5 separate regions of the Homo sapiens genome follow, and regions 1, 2, 3 and 5 are each linked to region 4. Evidence: promoter capture Hi-C in 16 types of primary human blood cells and fetal thymus (Javierre and others, 2016). All regions are on one chromosome and are shown on one strand. Each heading gives the region's core, a stretch centred on a gene start or on the middle of the fragment in contact. The rest is flanking DNA. Distances are from core to core; before and after follow the strand shown. Region 1 overlaps EMILIN2 (elastin microfibril interfacer 2). Region 2 has its middle 21 kb from the start of EMILIN2. Region 3 overlaps LPIN2 (lipin 2). Region 4 holds the start of MYOM1 (myomesin 1). Region 5 overlaps LPIN2 (lipin 2).

What was found. Contacts are between HindIII fragments. The CHiCAGO score rates a contact against its expected background, and 5 or more counts as called.
Region 1: a fragment that was not itself captured here is called in contact with the fragment with the promoter of MYOM1 in region 4 in 10 of 17 cell types (activated CD4 T cells, non-activated CD4 T cells, naive CD4 T cells and 7 more); the score reaches 8.7 in activated CD4 T cells.
Region 2: a contact is called between a fragment that was not itself captured here and the fragment with the promoter of MYOM1 in region 4, in 1 of 17 cell types (activated CD4 T cells). The highest score is 5.8, in activated CD4 T cells.
Region 3: a fragment that was not itself captured here is called in contact with the fragment with the promoter of MYOM1 in region 4 in 1 of 17 cell types (megakaryocytes); the score reaches 5.9 in megakaryocytes.
Region 5: a contact is called between a fragment that was not itself captured here and the fragment with the promoter of MYOM1 in region 4, in 13 of 17 cell types (naive CD4 T cells, naive CD8 T cells, activated CD4 T cells and 10 more). The highest score is 8.4, in naive CD4 T cells.

What each region holds. Positions count from the first base shown.
Region 1 is chr18:2,868,710-2,871,409 of GRCh38, forward strand. The region is part of intron 2 of EMILIN2 (elastin microfibril interfacer 2); the gene reads left to right. Among named protein-coding and RNA genes, the nearest start is that of EMILIN2, 23 kb to the left of the region's middle. The HindIII fragment of the contact is 1,388 bases long and covers 583-1,970 here.
Region 2 is chr18:2,824,884-2,827,583 of GRCh38, forward strand. No RefSeq gene overlaps it. Among named protein-coding and RNA genes, the nearest start is that of EMILIN2, 21 kb to the right of the region's middle. The HindIII fragment of the contact is 810 bases long and covers 865-1,674 here.
Region 3 is chr18:2,950,481-2,953,180 of GRCh38, forward strand. LPIN2 (lipin 2) reads right to left here. Exons shown (of 20, transcript NM_001375808.2): 4 at 575-876. Among named protein-coding and RNA genes, the nearest start is that of LPIN2-AS2, 15 kb to the right of the region's middle. The HindIII fragment of the contact is 1,121 bases long and covers 869-1,989 here.
Region 4 is chr18:3,218,531-3,221,230 of GRCh38, forward strand. MYOM1 (myomesin 1) reads right to left here and starts at 1,438. Exons shown (of 38, transcript NM_003803.4): 1 at 1,273-1,438. The HindIII fragment of the contact is 10,525 bases long and covers 1-2,218 here.
Region 5 is chr18:2,916,107-2,918,806 of GRCh38, forward strand. It overlaps LPIN2 (lipin 2), which reads right to left. Exons shown (of 20, transcript NM_001375808.2): 20 at 893-2,700. Among named protein-coding and RNA genes, the nearest start is that of LPIN2-AS2, 50 kb to the right of the region's middle. The HindIII fragment of the contact is 2,479 bases long and covers 13-2,491 here.

The DNA.
Region 1 (2,700 bases), core at 27-2,526, 350 kb before region 4:
CAGGCAGGGAGGCTGCAGTGAGCCGAGATGGCAGCAGCACAGTCCAGCTTCGGCTCGGCATCAGACGGAGACCGTGGAAAGAGGAGAGGGAGAGGGAGAGGGAGACCAATTCTTCTTTAAATGTCTGTTAGGATTTAGCTGTGAATCCATCTGGTCCTGGACATTTTTCTTGTTGTATTTTCAAAATGCTAACATACATCTGTGATGTTTTGTGTTATTTTACACAATATGTCAGTTTGAAGGGAGTTTTTTTTTTTTTTAATCCTGTTTGGCTTTCTTCCTTAATCATTGATCCAATACCTTTAAAAGAACAAAAGTAAATATTAGACCTGAGTTCTCTATAGGCAGAAACAATTGGTTATGTGTCTGAAGAGTAATCTGATACATTTTTAAAAAACCAACTCTAGTTAAACCTACATTCTGAAACTTTGACAAAGACTTAATGATGCTGATTTTAGTTTCTATGTAATTGAAATATGTTATTGCATAGTCAAGAAAAGACTTCTCTGGTACTTCCCTTTCACAGATTTGAAGAGATTTAAAAATACCTTAATGCAGAAATTACATAGTTAAAAAAAAAAAAGCTTAATTGAAGTATAATTTACATGAGTAAGCCACATATTTGAAGTTGTACAGTTTAATATTTTGACATATATACCCGTGAAACCAACATCACAATCAACATATCCCTTGCTAATCTCTCCCTCCAGTTTCTCTCCACGTACCCCCTCCCTGGGAACTGCTGATCCACTTTCCCTCACTAGGGATAAGTTTGCATATTTTAAAGTTTTATGTAAATAGAGTCATACAGGTTGTACTCTCTTTTGACTGGCTTCTTTCATTGAACAGAAAGATTTTGAGATTCATTCATGTTGTAGTATGTATCAGTAGCTGATTTTTTTTTTTGAGATGGGATCTCACTATATTGCCCAGACTGGTTTTTGAACTCCTGGGCTTAAGTGATCCTCCCACCTCAGCCTCCTGAGTGGCTAGGACTCCAGGTGTGTGCCACTGCACCTGGCTGTAGTTGATTACTTTTTGTTGTTGGATAGATTCCTCTGTGTGTGTGTGTGTGTTTGTGTGTGTGTGTGTGTGTGTGTGTGTACCATCATTTGTATAGTTGCTGAAGACGTGGTGAAATACAGAGTGGGCAAAATAACTTTTACTGATAGTAAGGATACTTCTCGGAGTTTCTGAAGAACAACTGATATGGGAAATACATTACAGATATAGAACACTAGATAATAATGGACTAGGCATGGTGGCTCACACCTGTAACACGACACTTTGGGAGGCTGAGGCAGGTGGATCACTTGGGCTCAGGTGTTAGAGACCAGCCTGGGCAACATGGCAAAACCCAGTCTCTACCAAAAATACAAAAATTAGCTGGGCGTGGTGGTGCACGCCTGTGGTCCCAGCTACTCAGGAGGCTGAGGTGGGAGGATCGCTTGGGCTGGGGAGGTTGAGGCTACAGTGAACTATGATTGTGCCACTGCACTCCAGCCTACGTGACAGACCCTGTCTCAAAAGAAATAAGTAAATAAAAATAAAAACATAATGAAGTAAAAAACATTTCACATTTATAGCCCTGGAAAATGTTGGATTAAGGATTCATAATTAGCATAAGCCATTTTGAATTGTCAGAAAGCTCAACAGGCTTGAAAGAAGACTTATTATTTGAAGACTATTTGTTTCATTAAACAAATATTTTTGTTCAAAGCCTACATGTGGCCCAGAACTAGTTTCTACAGTGATACAGTAAGGATCTTTCTGTTGGCTTCTGGAAGTGCACATCTAGCAAGTGAATTGAAAGATAAACATAAATAATTACGACATAAAAGGTGGGAATGAGAATTGTAGTAAGAGAAACACAACGTGCTGGGGTGTTCAGAGGTAGAAGAAAGTTATTTCCAGCCAGGAGGAATCCGAGAACTTGTTTGCAAGTGGTGACGTCTTATGGCTTTGAAGGAAGCTTCTAGTTGAATATATGCAGATGTGAGAGAAGGCCAAGGTCAGCGTAAGCCAAGACACACGAGCAGGGACCTGGAGGTGGGTGTCCACAGGGGGTCGTAGATCAAGACATCAGCAGGGTTGGTTCTCCTGAGGGCTTCGAGGGAAGGATCTGTTCCAGGCCTCTCTCCATGGCTTGTAGATGTCCGTCTTCTCCCTGTGTCTCTTCACATAATCTTCCCTTCTGTGTGTGTCTGTCTCTGTCTCCAAATTCCCCCACCACCCTTTTTTTCTTTAGCTACCTGTTAACTAAATTTTCCCTGGTTTCTAAGGACACTAGACCTATTGGATCAGTACCCACTCTAATGACTTTGTTTTAACTTGTTTTAACTTGATCACCTCTGTAAAGACCCTATCTCCAAATAAAGTCACATTTTCCGGTACTGGGGGTTGGGACTCCAAAATATCTTTCTGGGGGGCACACAATTCAGTCCAGAACACTGTGGTTGGGAGTGTGGGCTTTCTTATCCATGCAGAGGAGGGTCATGAATGCTTTCATTGGGGACATCATCAAATTTGGGCTTTTCCCCCCTTTTTGTGGAGGATGGGGTCTTGCTATGTTGCCCAGCCTGGCCTCGAACTCCTGGGCTCAAGTGATCCTCCTGCCTCTGCCTCCCTAAGTATTGTGATTACAGGCGTGAGCCACCACACCTGGCAGGGACATCATCAGAGCTGTGCTTTCAAATGCTA
Region 2 (2,700 bases), core at 20-2,519, 390 kb before region 4:
AGAGTACACACCTGTTCAAATATACATAGTAATGCAGACTGTTTTCCAAAGTAGTTGGACCAGTTCAGACCCTATCTTCGTCTGTTTTGTGTTGCTTTAAAGGAATACCTGAGGCTGGGTTATTTATAAAGAAAAGAGGTTTATTGGGCTCATGGTTCTACCGGCTATACAAGAGGCGTGGCCCCAGCACTTACTTCTGATGAGGGCCTCAGGCTACTTCCTACTCATGGCAGAAGGCAAAGGGACACCAACATGTGCAGAGGTCACAAGGCAAGACAGGAAGCAGGAGAGTCGGCGAGTGCCAGGCTCCTTTTTAACAACCAGCAATCATGAGAACTAATAGAGTGAGAACTGACCCCCTTCCCCAGAGAGGGCAATAATCTATTCATGAGGGACCTGCCCCATGAACCAAACATCTCCCATTAGGCCCTTCTTCCAACCTTGGGGATCACATTTCAACATAAGATTTGGAGGGACAGAGGCCCAAATGATAGCGTACCCCTACCAGGAGCACATGACCGTTTCTCTCCATATTCTCACTGACACTGGGCATTGTCAGACTTGTAAATTTTTTTCCATCTGTCAGGCATGTAGCATGATCCGACTGTATTAGATATTAACTCATGAAGTAGGTATTAACTTGTACTTTCATGATTATTAATGAGGTTGAGCATATTGGCATTTATTGGCCATTTGAGTTTCGTATTTCTTTGAAGTGCAGATTCCAGTTTTTGTCTATTTTTCTATTGGATTGTTTGTCTTTTTCTTGTTGATTTGTCATTGTTGCTGATTTGCTAAGTTCCACCATAAATTCTTTCTCAGTTATTTGTTGTAACATCTGAGAGGGCCTGGAGGCACCGGAGAAGCTTCAAAGAAGGGCTGAGGACAGAGGTCTTGTAGGTGGAGCTGAAGTTCTCCAGGCAGCGAGGTTAGCCCTGCCATCCCACACAGAGGAGCAGCTTGGGCAAAGATTACACTGGCTGAAGGGCCTCCAATCACACGTAACTGGAAAGAGGTAGAAAGGAGAAAGAATTGCTTTCTCCACTCAGCTTTCTCAGGCAAATTCAATGTGTTTCTGGCTTGAACATTCCTGTTTTTGAAGACTGCTTACAATGTGGATAAAATGGATTTGTGTATCTCCAGTTGGGGCTTTAGCTCTGCCTGGAGTCTTTGAAGGCTTATCTCTGAGAAATTACCACAGATCTTTGGGGAGGAGAGTGGGGCAGATTGGAGGACAGCATCCTCTAAATGAAGTCATTTTCATGGTCAAGACTTGCTCCCTTTACCTTTTTTTTTTTTTTTGAGACAGAGTCTCGCTCTGTTGCCCAGGCTGGAGTGCAGTGGCATGATTTCAGCTCACTGCACCCTCAGCCTCTCGAGGTCAAGCGATTCTCTTGCCTCAGCCTCCTGAGAAGGTGCCTGCCACCATGCCCAGCTAATTTTTGTATTTTTAGTAGAGATGGGGTTTCACCATGTTGGCCAGGCTGGTCTCGAACTCCTGACCTCAAGTGATCTGCCTGCCTCAGCCTCCCAAAGTGCTCCTTTAAAATTCTGAAGTATCTTGAATAAGTATTTGGAACCCCAATCTAACAAGATCATTCATCATGAATCTGCCCTTCAAAAGATATAATTTATTTGTATTTCTCTGGGAATCATTTAGGAACAGCAGTTCAAAGCTTGAAATGGGTTTTCTTCTTTTGTTATCTCTCACAGTTGACAGATCTCTCTTGCTAAGCTGCGATTTGGCAGTGCTTGGCTCTTAATCCCAGCTATTTAAAAGTACAGTTAAGGAAAACTGTAATTCTGAGGCAATGCGTGTTTTGAAACCTTATTTGGCCTCTCATTATCTCATTCATTGGGGCGGGAAGCACTCAGGCTGGGGTCACATGCTTGGCCTAGGGAGAGGATGACTATTCTGTCCTCGGACTGACCGGGCCCTGGAGTCGGGCAGGGAAGGCTGAAAATAGTCATTTCTTGGCTGCATTGGTCAGGCAGGAGGGTCTCTGTAACACAGGGTCGCTGACAAGTGAGACGGAGACACAAGGTCCCCGGAGGTCGGCCTCAGCAGGGACAGTGCATGTGTTTGTAGGACAGTTGAGGAAGTCCTAAGCAAAGCTTTACAGAGCTTTAGATTGATTACAGTTGTTTACAATTGTTACAAGAGAAAACTAAAGTGTAGTCTTCTGTTCAAAGTTTGAATTTTCAACTCATTTCTGAGTTAGCATTCCTGGATCTTAGTTCTCATCGAAATCAAGCATCACTTTCCCCCTGTATATTATTATGTTAATTTGGTCAACTGTCTTGTAAAAGTCAGATGCCTGTCTGCTTGTTCTCACTCATTTGACCTATGTGATTAAACAAGTATTATGCACCAGGAACTGTGCCAGGCATAGGGATAAAATATGAATAAGACAAATAAGAAACAAGCTTTTCCTCTGATGAGTCTTTGTTCAAAGCTAATAGCTGGGGCTTGGTTCGGTGGCTCACTCCTGTAATGTCAGCACTTTGGGAGGCCAAGGCGGGCGGATCACATGAGGCCAGGAGTTCGAGACCAGCCTGGTCAACATGGTGAAAACCTGTCTCTACTAAAAATACAAAAATTAGCTGGGTGTGGTGGCACACACCTGTAGCCCCAGATACTCAGGAGACTGAGGCAGGAGAATCGTTTGAACCCAGGAGGCGGAGATTGCAGTGAACTGA
Region 3 (2,700 bases), core at 179-2,678, 270 kb before region 4:
GGTGGAAGAAAACGGAATCTTGAATAAGAAAACGTGTTCTACTCCCAACTGCTACCTTTCAACCCCAAGCGGTGCTGACATGAAAAATGGCATATAATGAGCTCTTCTACAGAGCAGGTAAATAAGCAGCGATCAAGACTGCTCATGTAAAAAAATAAAAATCATTCCTTTTCAATTCCAATAAAACAAAACTCAACTCCTCAGGAAAAACATACCAAGCCTAAGGCCACTGGGTAGGGAAATCCCAGAGATGACATGGTGTCCAACTGGATCTGCTCACCGAGGGGCAAATCACTAATTCAGATCTTTTGACTTAGAACTTATTTGGCTCCTGGAAACTTCTTTATGAAAAGAAACACAACCAGTCTGCTACAAATGACATTTCAGTAGCATATTTATAGAATAGTTGAAAGGAACAAAGAAACTGCCTTTGCTGCTTGATTCCACAATAAACTGTAAAGGGGGAAAACAAGCCCAAACCTCACACTGTGTATCCATAAAAAAACTGGCAGCTCCTGGCTTCACATGAACTCTAGGTACCCGCACAAGACCCTTCCCAGGCTGAGAGTCCTACCGTGCTGCCTGGGCCCCCTTGTCATCATCGGAGCTCACGCCTACATCACATGTGTCTTCTGCAGCAGCAGATGCGGCCTGCTCTTCCTTCTTACTGTCCTGTTTGTATTTCTTTCTCCTTCGTTTTTTCTTTTTCACAGAACTTGGAGTAAAAATTGTCTCTGTTTCCAAGACGTGTGAGATGTCTGAACTCTGAGATGGTGTTTCATCTCCACCCGATTTCACCAAAGGGGTGTCAATATCTTTAAAGAACTGATCTTCAGTAGGAATTGGTGAGGTGGCAAGGTAAGCAGGAAGCTTTTCCTTGAGGAGAATGGAGAAAGAAAAGTTATCCATGACAAACTCGACAGTGAATTAAAGCAGTAATATTTTGAATATATAAATTTTCACCATGGTAAAAAAAAAAAAAATACATATTCCCTAAAGGCAAGAAAGTCCCACTGAACTAAGGCACTGCCTACTATACTCTGACGAGGTCTTTCCCCTGTGAGGCAGCTAAGTACCAGCCCACTTGGGTACATGTAACTGAGTCCATCTGAAGGAACTGACATGCCAAGTCAGCATGGAACACCCCAAAGCCATAATTAAAGCTAAGCCTATTAAATTCTTCACAAAGCAAAGATCAAAGCAGCAACAAAAATCTCAGGAGGTGTTACAAAGGACTCTCTCAAGAACTCACACAGAACATTCAGAACAGGAAAAAGCAGAAGGCAGAGATTAAGGACACTACATCAGACAAAGGGCAGCAGGACAGGTGAGTGACGCGAGGATGCAGTGATACAGAGCGGCCAATGCTTATGTTTTGCCAAATTAATTGGAGAAAGGCAATTAGAGACAATACCGTGTAACAAATGACATTAGTAAATTTTTAAACCATAAAGCATTTATGTTTAAAAATAAGAAATATTCCTTCCTGTAGGAATTCAAAAGAAGAAAATAAGGCCCAATATTTAGAAGCAGTCAAACTCCTAATACTAAATAAACGATCAAGTCTGGTGTTCAGTAAATTCATGTCTTAGCCATTTGTTTCATTCCTTTTTGTATCATCAGAGGAAATGGAAGGTACATAATAGAGATAAAAATTAACTTCAGGCAGAACGTGGTGGCTCACGCCTGCAATCCCAGCACTTTGGGAGGCAGAGGCAGGCGGATCACCTGAGGTCAGGAGTTTGAGACCAGCCTGGCTAACATGGTGAAACCCTGTCTCTACTAAAAATACAAAATTAGCTGGGCCTGGTGATGCATGCCTGTAATCCCAGCTACTCAGGAGGCTGAGGCAGAAGAATTGCTTGGACCTGAGGGGGAGGTTGTAGTGAGCCGAGATCATGCCACTGCACTCCAGCCTGGGCAACAGAGCGAGACTCCATCTCAAAACAAACAACAAAAAAATTAACCTCATATAATTTAAAATACTCAAGCTTTTAAACAATAGTTCTGAAAATGTATAGGTTTCTGTAATTATTTTTTTATTAAGCTTTTGAACTTAGCTTTGATAAACATATTACCCTGAAGCTAAAGTTTGATTTAGCTAGGAGAAATCTGTGTTCACCAGAAACACACACTTACAGAGAAATTGTAATAAGATATTCTGAATGTCCAAAAGAAACCCAGATGAGAGGTCGTGGTCTCTGACTTTGAGGATTTTTAATTCAATGATCTTTATTTTACTTACTGAAAGCTCTTTTTGTTTCTGGTGGTATTTCTTAGTTCTATTATAGCAATGTTTGTAGGATGAAGATAACCTGAACGCCTACCAGCAAGAAAATGGTTAAACAAACTATGGTATGTCCATACTATGGAATACTGTGCAGCTATTAAAAGCACAGAGTTAGGTTTAGAACTAGACTTGAAAAGAATGTTGATGACATATAATTAAATGAGAAAAATCTGAGAGAAAAAAATCAAATAAATGGCAACAAACTGGGTTTTTGGTCATCTTTATCCTACTCTAAATGACGAACCCCTAGAGGAACAGAGGCATGTTGTATTCATAGCATGTGGCATAGAGTAGTAATTCCAACATTTGTTGGATAAATTAACAATTTTTTATTTTAAGGAGAAGCATACTACACAAGATAAACTCTGGTCAATGTAGTCATATGTGGAATAGGGAGAAAAAGGCTGGAA
Region 4 (2,700 bases), core at 188-2,687:
AAATAGATGGCTATTTTCTGTTACAAAATATGGAGGATAATTACCATGTATAATTAATAACTACTAGATGAATTTTGATAAAACAAAGGGGTTAGAAAATGTTAATACAGAATTACGTTAGGCAGTTATAAAGATATTAGAGAAGTTTCTGTTATGATACTACATTGTAACATGGCACATGTTATTTGAATGATTTTTCAAATAAATAATAAAGAAACTTGTTATGTTATAAACTAAATTCATTCCCCAGATGACTTGAAATGCTGTTATTTTCACAAAATAAAATCTTTAAATATCTTGCCCCAATACTATTTTTTACTCTCTTTATTTCTATTTCTCCCAAATACATTTATTTTTAATAATACTTACTATTCCTCTCACATAGATAGTAAGTTACAAGTAAACAGGGTTTGACTTGAAGCCCACATTGCTGATTGTCACAGCCCTGACCTCTGGAACAAAGGTACAACCACCTCCTCTTCATCAAGTAAGCCCTTGAAGTTAACTAAAGCCAGGATTAGCTCCAACACATGACGGCTGGAGTACGTTGGGAGGAAAGATGGTTTTAGTGTCTTTTGTTTCTTTAAGACCTAAATTTTCTTTCTGAAAATAATTTGAGAATTTAGGAAGAAATACAAATTCCATAGCTGTAATTTATGATACTTTTGTGCAGGCATTAGAGGGCAGAAGCTGATGAAAACGATTCCCAGAAAAATCACTATGTGGGGCTCTATGTTGCCTCTGAAATATTACTTAACCATTTGAGGCCATATCATTGTGCGCGCTCACATTTATCCACATTGCATCGTCACAGCAAGATCCCTGAATTATAAACTAGTGACTTCAGAGTTAATTTTCCTTCTTTCGGTCTAATTTGTAACCAGGGAGCATTGTATGGCACATGCAGGATTGAAAATGCAGGGCCTCCTGTCTCTCATCCATTTCAGATTTCAACCAAACCGTACTTGGAAATAGCATTAAACACACGCTTACAGTTCAATCCGAGGCAGATATGACCTCCTTACAGTTCCAGGAACAGCAGCTTAATTTCAGAAGAATACAGTGATGTGAGAGAAGAGCTGTGCCAGCCCGACTGGCACCCGGCTGTTCTGGTTTCCCTCCCTGGAGCTTCACTTTCCTATTTCTCTGTTATTCTGACATCTCTTTGAGAAAACTGCTGAGTTCAGAAGACAGAAAGAAAGCACTTACACTGCACTGCTGCTAAGCTCATAAGCTATCAAGTGCATTCTTCTGCCTCAGTGTCACACTTACCAGTTTCCAAAGGAGTAATGGTGGTGGAAATGTTCCGATGAGGCCGAGGAGCTGGATGAGAGAATGAAGACTCCACCTAGGTTGAATCCAAGACAATGTTAAGAGGCAGGGCTAAAGACAGGACCCTGGGGGCCAGTTCAAAAATAATGCATGTGGTCAGGCAGTCGAATGTCAGGCCACACAACCAGCCTTTTATGGCCAAGAAGGCAGATAAATATAGCAGCAGATGGGGAGGGTAGTTCCAAACCAGGAGGAGGAGAGGGGCATGGGCAGGTAGCAGCCTTAGTAATATAATTGCATAATGCCGGTCAATGGGTCTGGCCCGATTAAACCAAATATAGGGTTTTTATTTGGCAACAAGAGTTATTTTCAATGTCACTTTATCAGTAGATAATTTAAAAGTGTAATGGAAAGAGTGGTTTGTGTTAACAGCTAAAAATAGGTGTAGTAATATGATTCTCAAAATGGACTTCGTGGAATTTTAATGCCAAGATATGATTCTGAGTGTGCTGTTAACAACACACGTACGGTACATTTAAAAGATACAATGTGAAAAAAGAACTTGAAGCTAACTAAAGGCAAAACAAGGAAGAAATGGGTTACACGTGGTGGCGATTTTTGCCTGACATCACGGTCACTATTTCTCTCACTTCAGGAAAATTTACAAGGTTAAGTCTTAGCTTCAAGCCTGAATATGTGATTTCCTGTTCATTAACTAAAGCCTTTTGAGACGCAACTCAGTGTTTTATCTTTCCTAACTCAGAGTAGGGTCAGTCCATCTAATAAGAGATTCTCTTTCTTTGTTCTTTAAATGGTGTGACCAATTAAGAGGAGGTGTAACCCGGTTGTGAGAGCCTGTGTTGTGGATTCAGACCAGATCTAGATCCCACTATATTGATAGCACTTAGTAGCCATGTAATCTCCAGCAATTTATTTCTCCTTCCTAAGCTTCAGGTTTTTTGTCTATAAAATGGGGATAATCATATCCAAATTATAGGATTGCTGTGGTGATTAAATGTGATACTGCAGACAGAGCACTTGACCTAGTGACAGTCACATAATATAGACTCAGTAAATATCAGCTGTTATTACTGATACCAATAATATAAAAGCTCATTGTTAGATTACATGTATGCAGCAGGTTGGTATTTTGATCTACTGGCCTTATGTTCTGACAGTGATATTACATCAACTGAATAAAGGTCACCTGTGTCTATCAAAATTGTTTTTCTTTCTGAGACAGGGTCTCACTCTGTTGCCCAGGCTGGAGTGCAGTGGTGCAGTCTTGGCTCACTGCAACCTCTGCCTCCCAGGCTCAAGCAATCCTCCCACCTCAGCCTCCCGAGTAGCTACAGGCGCATGCCATCACACTCGGCTAATTTTTTTTTTTAACTCTTGGTAGAAATGGAGTTTCACCATGTTGCCCAG
Region 5 (2,700 bases), core at 2-2,501, 300 kb before region 4:
TTCATGCCTGTAAGCTTGGAAACCCAGCTTTGCACATATCCAATCCACACCACAGCCCCTTTCTAAAGATAAATGTGTATTTTCCTTATGCCATCCTATAAACGGGAAAGAAAATGGAAGGACACATGCCAACTCCAATGGGTGCGGGGCAAAACAGAGAGAAGCCACACGCAGGCACGTCCTCAGAGCTCAGGTATGCAAAGTTCACTGCTCCCCTGAAGCCCTCAAAGCTGCTCTGGGTAAAGACCATTTCCTTTGTAACCAATTTCCCTGAGCTCTTCTTTTGCATTCCCAAAGACCCATGGTTGCCATCACGTCATGCAAACAAACATTTCCATCCTGAACACACGCTCCTGTGGAGGGCCTTTGGGATGCAGGGTTCAGCATATGCTGCATCTGGTAAGGGCCCAGCAATCTGAGAGGACAAAACATCACCATGTAAGTAATATATGCGATGTGGTTTTGATCAAAGGTCACTCTGACTCTGTGATGAAAACATCAGGATTGACTGCTAAATCATACCCACCCTAAGGAAGGGTTTAAGGAAAGGTGGGGTGTCCAGGGGCTCTGGACAGGACTCCCAGGGAATTCAAGTGCTTAGGGAGAGGAGGTAAACACAGCCTCCTGGACAGCCGTGAGACCACAGCAGAAGTCACATATGGATGGGTCATTTCCTGGCAGAAGGTACAAAGCAAGAGGTTAGTTCCTGGGGGTGTAGCTGCACTTCTGAAGCCAGGTTTTAAGAATAAGCAACAAAAAGGAGCTCCTGCTGTAGACAAATTTAAGTGTCAGCAAAGATCAAGATGCTAATTTATGGAAATTACCAATTTCTGGCAAGAATCTAGAAAGATGGTTTCAATGTCCCCTGAAGAAAAGAGCCAAATGCATTCAGTTTATGTTATGTTCGTTTATTGTTGTAACATTTTGTTTTGAACATCAAACACTGCACCAAAATATTAGCCATTCATCTTGCAACAATTGCTTTACTGTAACTAAGAGTACTGTACTGATGATGTTTACAATTAACTTTGGACAACTTAAAACTTATTAGTGACATTGCTGTCTAATAATCAAATACTTCATCATAGGCTGAACATAATTATTAAAAGAGCAAAGTTTCCCCTCCCTTTCTTACTTTCAAACAAAACCAAAAGAGTAGTTTTCATCTGGAAAGAGCACTTACTTCAGGGAAAGACTCAATTTTTAACCAGTTTTATTAAACCCTGGAAGCTCTACAACACGGGAAAACATCGAAATTCCCCGGAAGTCTGTTTTTGCCAACTTGTAAAAAGTGAAAGAGCTGACTTCCTTGTTTATTCTTTAAAGGGTTGGCCTGCACCTGCAGTGCCAACTGTGGAAGGGCTGTGTGCAGGCCCCACAGTTGCAGGGGCTGTTCCGGGCCAGCGCTTCCCAGTCATCCAATCTCCTTTGTCCCTCGGTTGTTCTGTGACTTTGAGCAGCTTTCATTTTAGGACATCCCATTTTTAAGTTTTTTCTTTTTCCAGTTGAAAACTATGCAGATGTTTTTAGACAGAGCAAAACACAACACAGTACCCAAAAACGGAGGCAGCCTGCATGCTCCAGGTCTACACGAGCACCTCACAGCCTGACAAGGGGCAGACAGCAACTCACACGGGACGAGCTTCAGCACACAGACAGCAAAGCAAATACGAGACTTAGACTGAACTGCAAAGAGGGAAAGGGCCATTTCACCAATGGAGTAACTGAGAGAATAATGACTTAGAGCCCAATCTGCCTGCCATCTCCCTGAGCCGTCACCCGTCACTGAAGATAGCGCGAGGGTGATGCTTCAACTCACCATCCTAAGGGTTTGTGTACAAACACACTCGAGGGCATCTCTTTCACAGAAAGAACAAATGTCATTTGTACCAAATGGCAATGGATTTTCAGCACAAACTTAATACTTTCCTAACACTACAGCAATAGTAATCATCTACTTTCAGCAAGAGGGACTCCTTTAAACAAGGAAAAAGACTCACATTAATTAGCCTATGTACCCACTGGATCAATCTGCAGCAACAAAGTCTAGTGCTAGCAGACACAGGGACAGAGGGACCAGCTACCCTCAACACAGGGCCAGGAGAGCCGGGTCCTAGACTGAACCCTCTAAGAAGGCCCATGTGTCCAAAGAGAAGAGCTGTCAAGAAAAAGAAACTAGTCAAAAACTCTTTAAAGGACAACCTAAAAAGGATTAAAGATGTATATTAAGATTTTTCAGTACCATACATATGCAAAGAAGTCCTACTATAAGCTCAGTTAAACACACAAAGCTCTCATTCTTCCTCTAAATAGAAGGTAGTCAAGAGGACACACAGATGGCATCTATGAAATAAGGTGGCTGCATGGCTGCTGTACTAGAATTCACAAACTGGGAAGAACTTCATATAAACAGAACCCAGGATCCCTAACCTACTGTAGATAAATAAACTCATTAAACAATTAGTCCTTATCAACTATTTAAGCTGGGGGAAGCTTTGCATGGGAGAAGGCTCATGTGGTCCCTTCTCTGGGAACATGAGCCTTCCTAGGTTTTGCCACTGAGAACTGTGTTTAGGGGATTTCAACATTGTCTCTGCATCCGACAAGCACTAGGAAAATGGCTGAAATCAGTCAGGGACTTTCAACTCTCCAATCTGGAAAAATAACCACCCCTATTTCTCTATCTCTAGATCAGCATTA